4 separate regions of the Homo sapiens genome follow, and regions 2, 3 and 4 are each linked to region 1. The links are contacts of gene promoters, found by promoter capture Hi-C in human tissues and cell types (Jung and others, 2019). All regions are on one chromosome and are shown on one strand. The core of a region is centred on a gene start or on the middle of the fragment in contact, and the rest is flanking DNA. Distances in the headings are between cores, read along the strand shown.

Region 1 (3,254 bases), core at 355-2,854:
ATAGGATATAATTAAAAGGTCACATGCAGGAGATAGGCCATGAGATTAAGAAGCAGCCAGGCTGCCAGAAACCATTTCTAGGCCACACCACAAGTGGCAAAGATCCCACTTTGCCACTCTGAACACCCAATTAGCACTTGGGCAAAGGAGAAAAAAGGAGTGGGTGGGCATGGCCTTGGACCACATTGCAGGTTATGATGGCTATGGCAAATGTTGGGGTATTTCCTAAAATAAAAGCATGTGTTCTAAGTACTGAGACAGAGTCGGGATGAAAGTTGAACAGGACACTTTCTGCTTTTCAGAAGTTGGGAAACGCACAAGACATGTGCTTAGCAAACGGGATGCCAGAGATTGAAGGGAAAGTAGCTCTTCCGCGGGAAACACCGTGGGATGCATTTTTTGCTATCAGGAAAAGCCCAGGAAGCTTTCTGAAAGTTGGGTAAAAAGACCTGGCCTTAGGAAAGCAGCAGAGTGGACATCAGGAATGTGCACAGGGCGAGGGACTGAGATGATTTTACATAAACGCCAGGAAAGAAAATGCCATGGTCCTTTGTTGAGAAGGAACAAAGATCACAGCAAACGAAGATCCTGAGGATGGTTTAGCAAAGGGTGAAAGTGAGTGCCTAGAAGAGCCTGATTTTCCCCGCGGGGGTAGATTCCAAAGAGCTTCCAGGGATAGAGATAGAAGGAGAGTACGGAGCAATCCGAAAGGGGTGAAGGTGGGCCTGGCTCGGGCTTAGGCCCAAGGATCTCCACCTCTTCCCCTGGAAGGTCCCGACGGCCTCTCCCGCCCAACATTCCGCCCGGGCGGGGGTGCACATGGCAGGCCCTAGCCCGGCTGTCCCCGAGCGGCGAACCCGGACGGACGGGTCTCGCCCTTCTCCCGGTCCGTTTCCTGGCCTGATCTCTCCGAGGCCGACACCGAGGCCAGGGGCCCGGAGCACCGCCCGCCGGTCTCTCCTTACCTGCCCAGACCCTGCAGCTGGTCCATAGTGACGGTCAGGTTGGTGACAGGCGACAGTCCCCCGGCGGCTGAAGCGCCAAATAGCGCCTTCACGACGGGCTGCGACGCGGGAGGGGGGCTGCAGGCGAAGAGCAGGCGGCGGCGGTGCGGGGGCTCCGGGCCCAGTTCCATGGCGGCGCCCGGCCTCGCAGAGCTCCCGCTCCCTCTTCCTCTGCCTCCGCCGCGACCGCCCCGCCCCGCCGACACCGGCCTCGGCCGCGCGCCACCGGCGCCCGCGGGTCAAACACAAACACGACTCCGCGGTTCAGGGACGCGGCTGCCGCGGGCAAGCGGCGCGGCCGGGCGGGTGTGCGGACCCTCCAGGCGCCAGCCACCAGCCACAGGCACGGGTGCTTCCCTCTCACACCGCGAGGCCAGCGGGCGGGCGGGCGCCGGCAACCTGAAGATTAAATCCAAACAAACGTGGCGGGTCGGCAAGAGAAGCCGGGCGAGAGCCTCGAGGCAACGGCCCAGGCTCACGCTGTCTTCGCTGTTCTCCCACCCGCTTGCCCAGCTCCGGGTAGCAGAAAACCAAGCCGACCTACACCTCTTACCCAGGCTGTCGCAGCCAGGCCGGCCTTTCGCGGTAATAGCGGCTCAGTGGGGCCAGCTGCTGCCCCGCCCCCCTTTCCTAGTTGGCGCCAAACGGAATCCACCAATCAGTAAGCAACTTCTCCTCCTCTCAACCGAATGGCAGCTAGGCTGGGCCAATGAGAGGGGAAGAAGAAAGCGGCTCGCGGGACTCTGCCAGGTCATCGGCTCTCAGAAGGGGGCGGAGCCCAGAGCAGAAGAGCGGGGATCAAAATGAGAGGGGGAGCAGAGGTCAATGAAAACTCCCAGCAGAACCTGCGAGGCGCTGCTCGCGGCTGAAAGGCCCCTTTGCCCCGTCGCATGCTGGGAAGCGTAGTTCCCATCGCGAGCTGCCGTCCAGTTAGCTTCGGCCCCCTTTGGGCCTCCGCTACCTCGCCCCCAGCCGGGCGCCCCACACTCTGAGGCAATGTGGAGGCTAAGGAAGACCTGTGGAGGTCTGGCCGGATCCAGCCTTGGCTCGGCCTCTAACCGTGCAGTATTGTGGACCCCTTTCTTCCGCCCCGGGCCTCCAGGCCCCATTTTATAATGAGGGAGGGAATGCAATGACCCCCAGGACTGGACTCGACCACCAGGGCCCAACTCTGGAGGGCTCACAGACCCTGGGTGCTGCTGGCCTCATGGGATTTGAACCCCGCAGTACAACCTGTGCTGTGGGCCTCAGCATTTTTTGCTCACTTCCATTCTAGCCCTTATTGGATGCTCTTAGAATCATTTCTTTCTTTCCCACCACTTCTTAGCCCCCTGGGAGCTCCTAGAGAGAAATAACAGCAAACACAATAATAGCAAATAATAGCTAAAGTTTACATAATGCTTATGCACTTGACACTGTTCCCAGTGTGTTAATCTGTATTAATTCATTTAATCTTTACAACTCTGTGACATAGGAATTATCCCCATTTTCTAAGTGGGCATATTTACTTTTACAGCGCCGAACCTGTGGCAGCTCCTAGACGGATTTTGAGGGCCATAAGTGCATGATTTAATTGCAACCTACTGCTGGGCTTAGTGGCTCACGCCTATCATCCCAGCACTTTGGGAGGGCGAGGTGGGAGGATTGCCTGAGCCCACGAATTTGAGACCAGCCTGGGCAACAAAGTGAGACACCCCCTGCCCCCCACTCAAAAAAAAAAAACCCTACAGTTTGAAAAGCCATGCTGGACAGGTGGAAACCCCAAACCTTTGGCCCCAACACCAGACCCTTCACAGTGAGGAACCTCTCTCTCAGGATTCATCTCCTTTTCTGTGCACCAGTGCTCCACCACCCAGGAACCTCCCTTCCCTCCAGAAACCCCAGGCTATTTAGGCCTCTCTGCACAGTTCACATGGTCTGTGGTCCCACTGTTTCAAATAGTTCTCCCTGTCGTATCTCTGAATACTTTCCTCTCCTCCTGTGTTTTATGTGGTTTAATACTTGGCTCAACAGGCCGGGAGCGGTGGCTCACGCCTGTAATCCCAGCACTTTGGGAGACCGAGGCGGGCGGATCACGGGGTCAGGAGATCGAGACCATCCTGGCTAACATGGTGAAACCCCGGCTCTACTAAAAATACAAAAAATTACCGGGCGTGGTGGCGGGCGCCTGTAGTCCCAGCTACTCGGGAGGCTGAGGCAGAAGAATGGCTGAACTCGGGAGGCGGAGCTTGCAGTGAGCCAAGACCGAGC
Region 2 (3,254 bases), core at 192-2,691, 800 kb before region 1:
CCTGTTAGTTGTGTAGGTACTGGGGTCCTGTCAGGGCCTCTGGTTCTTTCTCCTCGTCTGCTGCTGGGCCTGCCTTCTCAGCCTCCATTGGAGCTTCATACTTCCCGCTAGACTGTTCCGAGTTCTGCAGAGTCCCAGACCATAGCGAAATGGGGACAAGGTCTCTGTCCCTTACTCCAGGAACTTCACCCAGCCTCTTTCTTCTTTTTTAGTGGAGGAGTGATCAGCAGTCACAGAGGATTTTGTTAGGGTTTTAAAAACATCCTTTTGCTTCTAACAGGCTGCAAATAATAATAATAACATAAATATCCTGGCTGCTCCACTGACTCACTGTGTGGCCAGGGATTCATTTTCTGTGCCTGTTTTTCAGAGTTGTTTGTAAGAACCATATTTTTAAAAAATAGAAATGCTCTGGGAGGCTGATGTGGGTCAACTGCTTGAGCCCAGGAGTTTAAGACCAGACTGGGCAACATAGTGAGACTCCCATCTCTATAAAATAAAAAAAAGTTTGGGCGTGATGGCTCATGTCTGTAATCCCAACACTTTGGGAGTCTGAGGCAGAAGGATTGCTTGAGGCTAGAAGTTCCAGACCAGCCTGGGCAATATAGCAAGACACTACCTCTACAGAAAATTAGCTGAGTATGGTGGTATGTGCCTGTAGTTCCGGCTTCTTGGAAGGCTGAGGCAGGAGAATTACTTGGACCCAGGAGTTTGAGACTGCAGTGAGCTATGGTTGCAGTACCACTGTAACTCCAGCCTGGGCAACAGAACAAGACCTTGTCTCGAAAATAAAATAAAACAATAAAAAATAAACTAAAAACAATTTAAATAGAAATGGAATGGTCTAATATGGAAAGAACATGGGCTCTGGAGCCCAAATGCCTGGGTTTCAGTCATATCCCCATCAGTTATTAGCACCGTGACCTTGGTGAATACCCTAACTCTTTGCCTCAGTTTCCTCATTTCCTCATCTGTAAAGTGGTGATGATAATAGTGTCTACCTCTTAGGGTTGTTCTAAGGATGGAGTGATTACTAGGCACTCAGCACAGTGCCTGACCTGTGGTAGGTTCTCAGTTAAGCATCTGCTGCTGATCTTATAGGAGGACGGAGATGAGATTCAGATAGAATGTGACCTCTAGGCATGATTTGCTAGGGGTGGGAGCAGCATCTTTCTGTCACCATTGTGTGAACAGCAGGGTCAGATGTTCCTAGTGATATCACGGGAAGCCTTGTTTCTAGGATGTAGGAGTCTCCTGTCCATCTGATTCCTTTGGCCTCTATCCCACGAGACCTCTGAGCTACACTTTTACTCATTTTCTCTAACCTAAGGGTGGGCAAAACCTCTTACTGCAAGGGAGTTAACCACAGAACATTCTCTCATATAGTCAAGTTTTACCTCATAGCTTAGGCCACATTTTAAAAAATATTTTAGTTAATTAATTATTTTTGAGATAGTGTCACACTCTCACCCAGGCTGGAGTGCAGTGGCACAATCATGGTTCACTGCAACCTTGAACTCCTGGTGTCAAGCAGTCCTCTCACCTCAACCTCCCAACTGGCCAAGAGTATAGGCGCACACCACCACACGTGGCTAATTCTTGTGCTTTTTGTAGAAATGGGGTTTTGCCATGTTGCCCAGGCTTGTCTTGAACTCCTGGGCTCAAACGATCGGCCCACCTTGGCCTCCCAAACTGCTGGGATTACAGGCATGAGCCACTGTGCCTGGCCTATTTTTATTTTTTAATACAGACAGGGTCTCACTCTGACACCCCAGCTGAAGTAAGGTGGTGCCATCATAGCTCACTGCAGCTTCAAACTCCTGAGCTTAAGCAGTCCTGCCTCAGCCTCCCAACTAGCTGAGACCACAGGCATGCACCACCACTCCTGGCTAATTTTTAAATTTTTTTTCGTAGAGATGGGGGTCTCGCCATATTGCCCAGGCTGGTCTGGAACTCCTAGCCTCAAGTGATCCTCTCACCCCAGCCTACCAAAGTGCTGGGATTATAGTCATGAGCCATCATGCCCAACCCAAGGCCACTTTTTGTAGTTGTGTTTTTGTTGTTGTTGTTGTCATAATTATTTTTGAGGGAGGGAGTGGAGAGGGGGTGGAGTTGGATAGATCAGAGTGAAGATTGTTAAATGCCTGTCAGCTCCCTAAAGTTCTTGGTAAATCCTTATGTTTGTGCATAGTTGAAAATTTCTAGGGGGATTTAATTCATGGCTTTTATCATATTCTCAAAGGACCCACAAAAGGCTAAATAAAAACCACTGATAGGGGAAAGTGGTATTCAGGTACCATTTAGCTCTTCAGCAACTCTTAAGACATTTGTTTTCCAAATTTCAAACATATAGAAAAATTGGAAGAATAATTCAGTGCTCACCCAAATTCTCACTATCTAGTATTTTTGTTTTGTTTTGTTTTTAGAGATGGGATTTACTCTTTGTTGCCCAGGCTGGACTTGAACTGCTAGGCTCAAGTGATCCTCCTGCCTCAGCCTCTGGAGTAGCTGAGACTACAGATGTGCGCTGCACCTGGCTGATTCATTTTTAAATTTTTGTAGAGATGGGATTTATTGTTATGTTGCCCAGTCTGGCCTTGAACTCTTGGGGTCAAGTGATCCTCTGGCCTCGGCCTCCCAAAGTGCTGGAAGTACAGGTGTGAACCACTGCACCCAGTGTGTTACCTAGTTTTGTTTGTTTGTTTTGTTTTTTTAAGATGGAGTCTTGCTGTGTGGCCAAGGCTGGAGTGCAGTGTTGTAATCTCAGCTCACTGCAACCTCCCCCTCCTGAGTTCAAGCGATTCTCCTGTCTCAGCCTCCTGAGAAGTTGGGATTACAGGTGCCCACCACCATGCCTGGCTAATTTTTGTGTTTTTAGTAGAGATGGGGTTTCACCATGTTGGTCAGGCTGGTCTCGAACTCCTGACCTCAAGTGATCCACCTGCCTTGGCCTCCCAAAGTGTTGGGATTACAGGCATAAGCCACTGTGCCCGGCTACCTAGTTTTGATGGATGTATTTCACCTTATTTGTTTTCTCTCCAGATAGATAGATAGATAGAGAGAGATCCCACAAGCCCTTTGAAAGTAAGTTTTGGACATCACTTTTCCCGGACACATCTCAGCATGTGTTTCCTAAGAGTGAGGACATTCTACACAATCACAATGTTATTATCATACCTAAGAAAATCTACAATAATTTTCCCCTATCTTTTATGACTTTTCCTTTTTTTTGCAGACTCAGATCCAGCTGGGGT
Region 3 (3,254 bases), core at 336-2,835, 670 kb before region 1:
ACAAGGATCTACTGAAAGCTACAATTTGGCGCTATGGGGTCATAAAAAGGCTTTAGACACTTAGTATCCTGGTTGCCTGGAGGAGTTTACCATTTCATTAGGAAGACAAAGATTATGAATAAACCAGGCTGGGCGTGGTGGCTCACGCCTGTAATCCCAGCACTTTGGGAGGCAGAGGCGGGCGGATCACCTGAGGTCAGGAGTTCCAGACCAGCCTGGCCAACATGGTGAAACCCCGTCTCTAACAAAAAATACAAAAAAAAATCAGCCAAGTAATTAGCCCGGTGTGGTAGCGCACGCCTGCAATCCCAGCTACTTGGGAGGCTGAATAAGGAGAATCACTTGAACCCGGGAGGTGAGGTTGCAGGGAGCCGAGATCGCGCCAGTGCACTCCAGCCCAGGCGAGGGAGCGAGACTCCATCAAAAATAAATAAATAAATAAATAAGCCAAAAGATACACTCCTGAAAGAGGTTACTCCTACGTTAAAATGTGAAAGGTTTCAAGGTACCCCGGAGTGTGAGGAGGGTGGAGAGAACAGGCCAGCCTGGGGTGCCCAAGACGGACTTGGTCCAAGCCAATTTGGCTCTGTCCTGCTTCTAACAGTTCTATTAGAGATCACAAGGAGGAAGAGTAAGAAGAACAGCAGCGTTCAATACAATGTGCCAATTGCTCCGGGGCGAGGTGGCGGTTAGGAAGCTCGCCCATGAAGACGGCGGCGAAACGAACTCCCCTCTCCTCTCGGGCCTATTCTGCAGTCTCCTCTGAGCGCCTGGGACCCCCCACCCCAGTGAACATGCACAGCGCGCCACAGTTCACGTCCGCGAATATAACCCAACCCCACTGTCGGCCATGCTTCCCAGGTACTTTTTTTTTTTTTTTTTGAGGTGGAGTCCCGCTCTGTCGCCCAGGCTGGAGTGCGGTGGCGAGATCTCGGGTCACTGCAACCTCCGCCTCCCGGGTTCAAGCAATTCTCCTGTCTCAGCCTCCCGAGTAGCTGAGATTACAGGCATGAGCCACCACGCCCGGCTAATTTTTGTATTTTTCGTAGAGACGGGGGTTTCACCATCTTGGCCAGACTTGTCTCGAACTCTTGACCTTAGATGATGCACCCGCCTCGGCCTCCCAAACTGCTGGGATTACAGGGGTGAGCCACCGCGCCCGGCCGCTTCCCAGGGACTTTTAAGGACACGCACAGCCGTTGAGAATATGCGAGATGGCCCAGAAGCCCACTTTCGGCGGGCCCAAGCCTCCAGTCCAATCCCCGGGTCGATCCTCTGCGGACTACAACTCCCAGGTACCCCGTGCCGGGTCGTCGCGCCATTCCCCGGGGTCGTGCGCACCGCCTCCCGGATGCAGTATTCCGCTGCCCTGCCAGGTCCCGCCCCCTTCCGGCCAGCGGGACCTCTTACCTGCTCCGCCCTGTCGGGGGTGGTGTTAAGCAGGTTATTAAGTTCCACGAACATTCCGAGCTCCTGGGACTAGCGCTCTGGAGGAGAACCCGGAGTGCTGCAGAGACGACGGAGGCTGGAGAGCAAAACACACCCGACAGCCCGGCTCGCGCAAGGAAGCGCGCATGCGCAATGCCACTTTTGCGAGCCAGCCACAGCCAATGAGGCGGGTGCCTCGATGGGACCGCTGCGCACGCGCGTAGACGTCCGTCGAGTCCCAGGTGGTAGGAAACGATGGGCTTCTCTGTGCGACTGCCAGCGGCCTCTGGCGGCTCATTCCGCGCAGATCTGCGTGGCGCCCGAGCCCTCCCAGTGGGCCCCCAAGGCTCCACGCGACCGAGTATTCTTCTTCCCTTGGCCTCGCTCTCTGCCCAGCCCCGGGCTCCTTTTCTCCACACGTGGCTGTCAAGCGCCTTCTGTATGCCCCACACTCCTGGGAGCTTGGGCTACATCGATGAACAAAAACAAAGGACAGGGAATTTATTATTATTATTATTATTATTATTATTATTATTATTATTTAATTGAGACGGAGTCTTGCCCTGTCGCCCAGGCTGGAGTGCAGTGGCGCGATCTCGGCTCACTACAGTCTCCGCCTCCTGGGTTCACGCCATTCTCCTGCCTCAGCCTCCCGAGTGTAGCTGGGACTACAGGCGCCCGCCACCACGCCCGGCTAATTTTTTGTATTTTTAGTAGAGACGGGGTTTCACCGTGTTAGCCAGGATGGTCTTGATCTCCCGACCTCGTGATCCGCCGGCCTCGGCCTCCCAAAGTGCTGGGATTACAGGCATGAGCCACCACGCCCGGCCGACACGGAATTATATCTTGAAAAGTTGTGTGGAGAAAAGCAAAGTGGGATTAGAGAGTACCAATGGGGGCAGGGGTAGGTTCCAGAATTAAAGAGGTTGTCAGGGTGGGTCTCACTAAGAAAGTGTGGTTGCGGCTGGGCGCGGTGGCTCACACCTGTAATGCCAGCACTTTGGGAGGCCTAGACGGAGGGATCACGAGGTCAGGAGTTCGAGACTAGCCTGGCCAATATAGTGAAACCCCCTTCTCTATTAAAAATACAAAAAATTAGCCTGGCGTGGTGGGGGGCGCCTGTCATCCCAGCCACTCGGGAGGCTGAGCCAGTAGAATCGCTTGAACCTGGGAGGCAGAGGTTGCAGTAAGCCGAGATCACGCCATTGCTCTCTAGCCTGGGCAGCAGTGTGAGACTTCGTTAAAAAACAGTGTGGTTGCAACACGCCCTGTATGCCTGTCCTCAGAGCCTTTATACTAACTCTTCCCTCTTCCTGGAATGCCCCTTTTCCCAGATATTAAGCTGATTTTAAAATTCCCCACTTCCTTCAGGTCTCTGCTCCGATGTCACTTTATTCGTGAGGCCTTCCCTGAGCACCTTACTTAAATCACAAACTGTCCCTTTCCCAACACTTCTTTTTCCTTGCTTTTATTTTTTTCCATAACATTTATATCTATTATACCGTATATAGTTTTGTTCTAGCCCAATCAGCCTCAGATCAGTGGACAAACCTGTAATTCCACCAAAGTCAAGTTTATTGACAGTCACTAAAATAATTGTTATATGATTTGGGAAAGAGTCGAATTCAGGTGAAATTTAAGTGAACCGGTGTTTGATATGCTCAAAGCACAGCACAGCTGTGTGTGGAGTCCTAATCTGGCGTGGACTGCAAAGGGGACCCAGGGTCATTTCTGTGGAAACTACAAGGTTAAGATCGATGTGGAATGTAATCGTTAGCTGAAGCTCTGCACCTGGGATGGAAATCAAGGCTGCTTCTCTGTGTCAA
Region 4 (3,254 bases), core at 565-3,064, 610 kb before region 1:
TGGAGGGACAGCATGCCACCGACTGGTGGGCTGGCCTGTCCCGGGCCCCAGACCAGGCTTCCCAGTGGGCACTAGAAGCTCATTTTCATCTTCTAGGTCTCCACCTCCTACTGCATCTTTGTCATCCTCCTCTTCCTCCTCCTCTTCATCCAAGTCATCATAAAAGGATGTGGTGGGGTAGAAATCAGATTCATCGAAGGGGGTGAAATCATCGTATAAGTCAAGCAGGCTCCAGGAAGGGGTCTCTCCCTCAGTATCAGGGTGGTTCTCTGAGGTTCCTGGTGACCCTGGGAAGCTCCCCAGATCTGCGCCACGACCCTCACCATCCAGTCCTTCGAAGTAGTCGATGTCAATGATATCTGATGCCGGTTGGGGCTCCAGGGTGCCCTGAAATGGGTAAGTCAGCTCTGGCCCTTGAGGGTCGGGTGTGCTGCCCCCCAGGTTCAGCCAAACCTCCAAGGGGCTCTCCTTGGGGAGTTCAGAAGCTGGGCTCAGCTTGTCGCCGGGGGTGGGGGAGGGTGGCCCGCTGGCCTCTGTAGCCTCAGGAATGGCAGGGGGCATGATTGACTGCCCGAGGACCTCGTGGGGAGCCTGGAGCGTAGCTGGAAGGGCCTGGGCATCGCCGCTGCCCGCCTCTGCGGTCACTCCTCCCAGGCCTGGGCTGTCAGCTTCCAGCCAGGCGGTGCCGGTCACCGCAGCCGACTCCTGCAGCACCTCTTCTGGCCCGGCCAGCTCGCCACCGGGCGCCGTCCACGACGCCTCATCTTCCCCAGCCGCTGGTGGGCCGGCTTCTTCCCGCGTGTCGTTGGCAGGCGGCTCCCACGCCGGGCTGCCCTTCACCAGCTCTTCGGCCTCAACCGCGCTGCCCGCCTCACGCGCTGCGGGCGGGAGGGCAAGGGGCGGGACGTCAGGGCGGCGCGCTGAGGAGCCCTGGAGCCCCGGCCCGCCCCGGTCAGGCCCGCTCGCCTAGACCTGGTCAACCCAGACCTCGCCACCCTCAGACCCCACCGCCCCAGTGTGACCCCAGCCACCCGGTACCTCTAAGCCCCGTCCCGGAGTCTGCCCCCAAGACGAGGATCACACCCCGCCCAACGCCTCGCGGCTCGGCCCCGCCCGACCTGCCCCGCCGTCTGAAGAGCCAGGCCAGGGCGGCCCCCAGCTCGGCCCACCCATAAGTCTCACCCTCGGGAACCCACCCTGAGCCGCGTCCACTGGCTCCCGCCCTCAGCTCCAGGTCCCGCCCCGAAGTCTCACCCTCAGGCCCCGCCCCGGCCCCGCCCCGGCCCCGCCCCCGGCCCCGCCCCCAGTCCGCACCGCGGCCCGCGCGCTTGGGTCCCGGCTACCCCAACCGGGGTCGGCCCCCACGCGGGTCGGCCTTTCCCGGACCCCCACCACCTCCTGGGACCATTCCGCCGCCCGGCCGCGGCCAGGCGGTGCCCCGCCCCCTTGCCACAGCTCACAGCTCCACCTGTCCCCGCCGCCAGCGGGACCCCTGCCCTGGGTGGGGCACGAGGGCCGCGGGGGTCCCGGGCGCAGTCATACCTACCCGGCACGGCCCCAGAGGCCAGGACCAGCGCGGCCCCCAGAAACAGCAGCAGTGGCGGCGGCCCCCGGCCCGGGCCCCCGCCCCCGGCTCGCCCCATGGCGCGGCGCCCCGACCGCTGTCCGCGGTCCGCCCGGCTGGCTGCGCCCTCGGCTCGCCCGGCCGCCGCGCCTCCCGCCGGTTCTGCGGCCGCCTCAGCCCACGATGGGCAGCGCGAGGAGCCGCATGCCGCCGCCGCCGCCGTCCGCCGCTGTCCCCGGCGCGCCGCGCCTCCCCGCCTCCCGCGCCGCCGCTGCCGCCGCTGCGCTCAGCGCCGCCCTCACCCCGCCCGCCGCGCCGGCCCCGCCGCACGTAGCGGTGACGCCGGCCCCTTGGTCAGCCTGCCAGGGGAACAGACAGACCCCTCGCTGGGGACTAGGAGACACACGGACGGGGAGTGCGGGGCAGGCGGACGGGGAGCGCGAGGCAGGCGCACGGCGCGGCGCGCGGCGTTAGGCGGCAGGTGCACGGGCGGGAGACCTGTGGGATGGGGCCACGGTCCCGCCCCAGGTGAACAGGCGGCACGGGGCCCCGACCCGGAGGAACCCACCCGCCACGCGGCAAGCACGGAGGCGGGGACGTCGCGGGCCCAGTTACCCGCAGGGTCGGGGCGGGGTCCAGAAGAGCCGCAGGGGGCGGAAGCACGAGCCCCCACTGTGGAAACAAGCCAGGCCCGGGGCGCATGGAGCCTCTCGGATTCTGCACCAATCCCGTGTTCCGGGCGGGAAGGCTCTCAGGGAGGTCTCCGGGTCTCCACGAGGGAGGGGCGGGCGTTGGCAGAGCCTGGCAAGGGGGCGAAGCCGACCGCCCAGGCTCTAATCGGATCAGATCTAATCCGTTCGCAGCCAAAGCCACTAGCCTAGATCTCGCACAGCCAGGCCCGCCATAACGCATCCCGGGAGCAAGGGGTAAGACCCTCCCTGGGACTGCGGCTACCTCGCCTTCCTTCTAGTCTCCGGGCAGCCTGGGGAGCGGCCTTTAATCCTGGTCCCTTCTCCGGGATACGTCGTCCCCCAGGTGTCTCAGACCACCAAAACTCAGGTTCCTGGGTAGACCAGGGGGGTCTAGATCCCCAGCCGGGCACACATGGATGCTTGGCTTTAGAGTGATCTGTGGGGCCCATTCACAGCTTCAGGGCTCACAGGGCAACCCAAGACCACGCACCAGGAGGTCTGCTTAGTCGGCAGGAGGAACCGCAACCTAGTTACTTAGTTTATTCCCCCAAACCGACCGTCTACCCCTTAATGTGTTACTCACCCAAATGACAGTTCAGGGTATCAGCCCAAGGAGATAGGACAACTCCAGTATTTAAGAGACGGTCCCATTGCTGTCTTAGAAGACCAAATAAGTGACCAAGATGGAGATTCTATCTCCTAATCTTTCTGATACATATCTCCAGATGGAGTTGCCTTGGTTCAAAACCTGTTTCTCAGCAGAACTATGGCTGCAGCCTATTTGCCTAGCCTAGCGTCTCCACCTCTCCTGCCTGGTAAACTCCTCATGCCAGAAAAACTCAGTTCTTATCACCTTTCCCTCTATGAAGGCTTCTCAGCAGTTACACTTAATGCCCATCATCTCATCTTATCTACAGTTATTCCTCACTGGACTGCAAGGCACTTGAGTGCACAGGGCTGGTAACAGAGGGAGGCTCCATATCAGACAGGCATAAATG

The links. The method cuts DNA at HindIII sites, captures the fragments that hold promoters and counts their contacts. A contact is called where the count stands out against the background at its distance.
Region 2: a fragment that was not itself captured here is called in contact with the fragment with the promoter of CDC25A in region 1 in 1 of the 25 tissues and cell types used here (heart left ventricle).
Region 3: a contact is called between the fragment with the promoter of ELP6 here and the fragment with the promoter of CDC25A in region 1, in 1 of the 25 tissues and cell types used here (pancreas).
Region 4: a contact is called between the fragment with the promoter of CSPG5 here and the fragment with the promoter of CDC25A in region 1, in 3 of the 25 tissues and cell types used here (IMR-90 fibroblasts, hippocampus and pancreas).

Annotation. Positions count from the first base shown.
Region 1 is chr3:48,186,813-48,190,066 of GRCh38, forward strand. It overlaps CDC25A (cell division cycle 25A), which reads right to left and starts at 1,605. Exons shown (of 15, transcript NM_001789.3): 1 at 966-1,605. The coding sequence starts at 1,135. RefSeq lists an enhancer at 690-1,318 and a silencer at 1,062-1,271. The HindIII fragment of the contact is 16,525 bases long and covers 1-3,254 here.
Region 2 is chr3:47,390,457-47,393,710 of GRCh38, forward strand. All of the region lies in intron 1 of PTPN23 (protein tyrosine phosphatase non-receptor type 23), which reads left to right. Among named protein-coding and RNA genes, the nearest start is that of PTPN23-DT, 11 kb to the left of the region's middle. The HindIII fragment of the contact is 5,453 bases long and covers 1-3,254 here.
Region 3 is chr3:47,512,127-47,515,380 of GRCh38, forward strand. It overlaps ELP6 (elongator acetyltransferase complex subunit 6), which reads right to left and starts at 1,586. Exons shown (of 7, transcript NM_001031703.3): 1 at 1,411-1,586. The coding sequence starts at 1,464. RefSeq lists enhancers at 1,001-1,110, 1,441-1,550. The HindIII fragment of the contact is 13,702 bases long and covers 1-3,254 here.
Region 4 is chr3:47,577,051-47,580,304 of GRCh38, forward strand. CSPG5 (chondroitin sulfate proteoglycan 5) reads right to left here and starts at 1,815. Exons shown (of 5, transcript NM_006574.4): 1 at 1,547-1,815; 2 at 1-878. The coding sequence starts at 1,643. RefSeq lists silencers at 1,026-1,115, 1,166-1,225, 1,266-1,315 and an enhancer at 2,440-3,144. The HindIII fragment of the contact is 21,614 bases long and covers 1-3,254 here.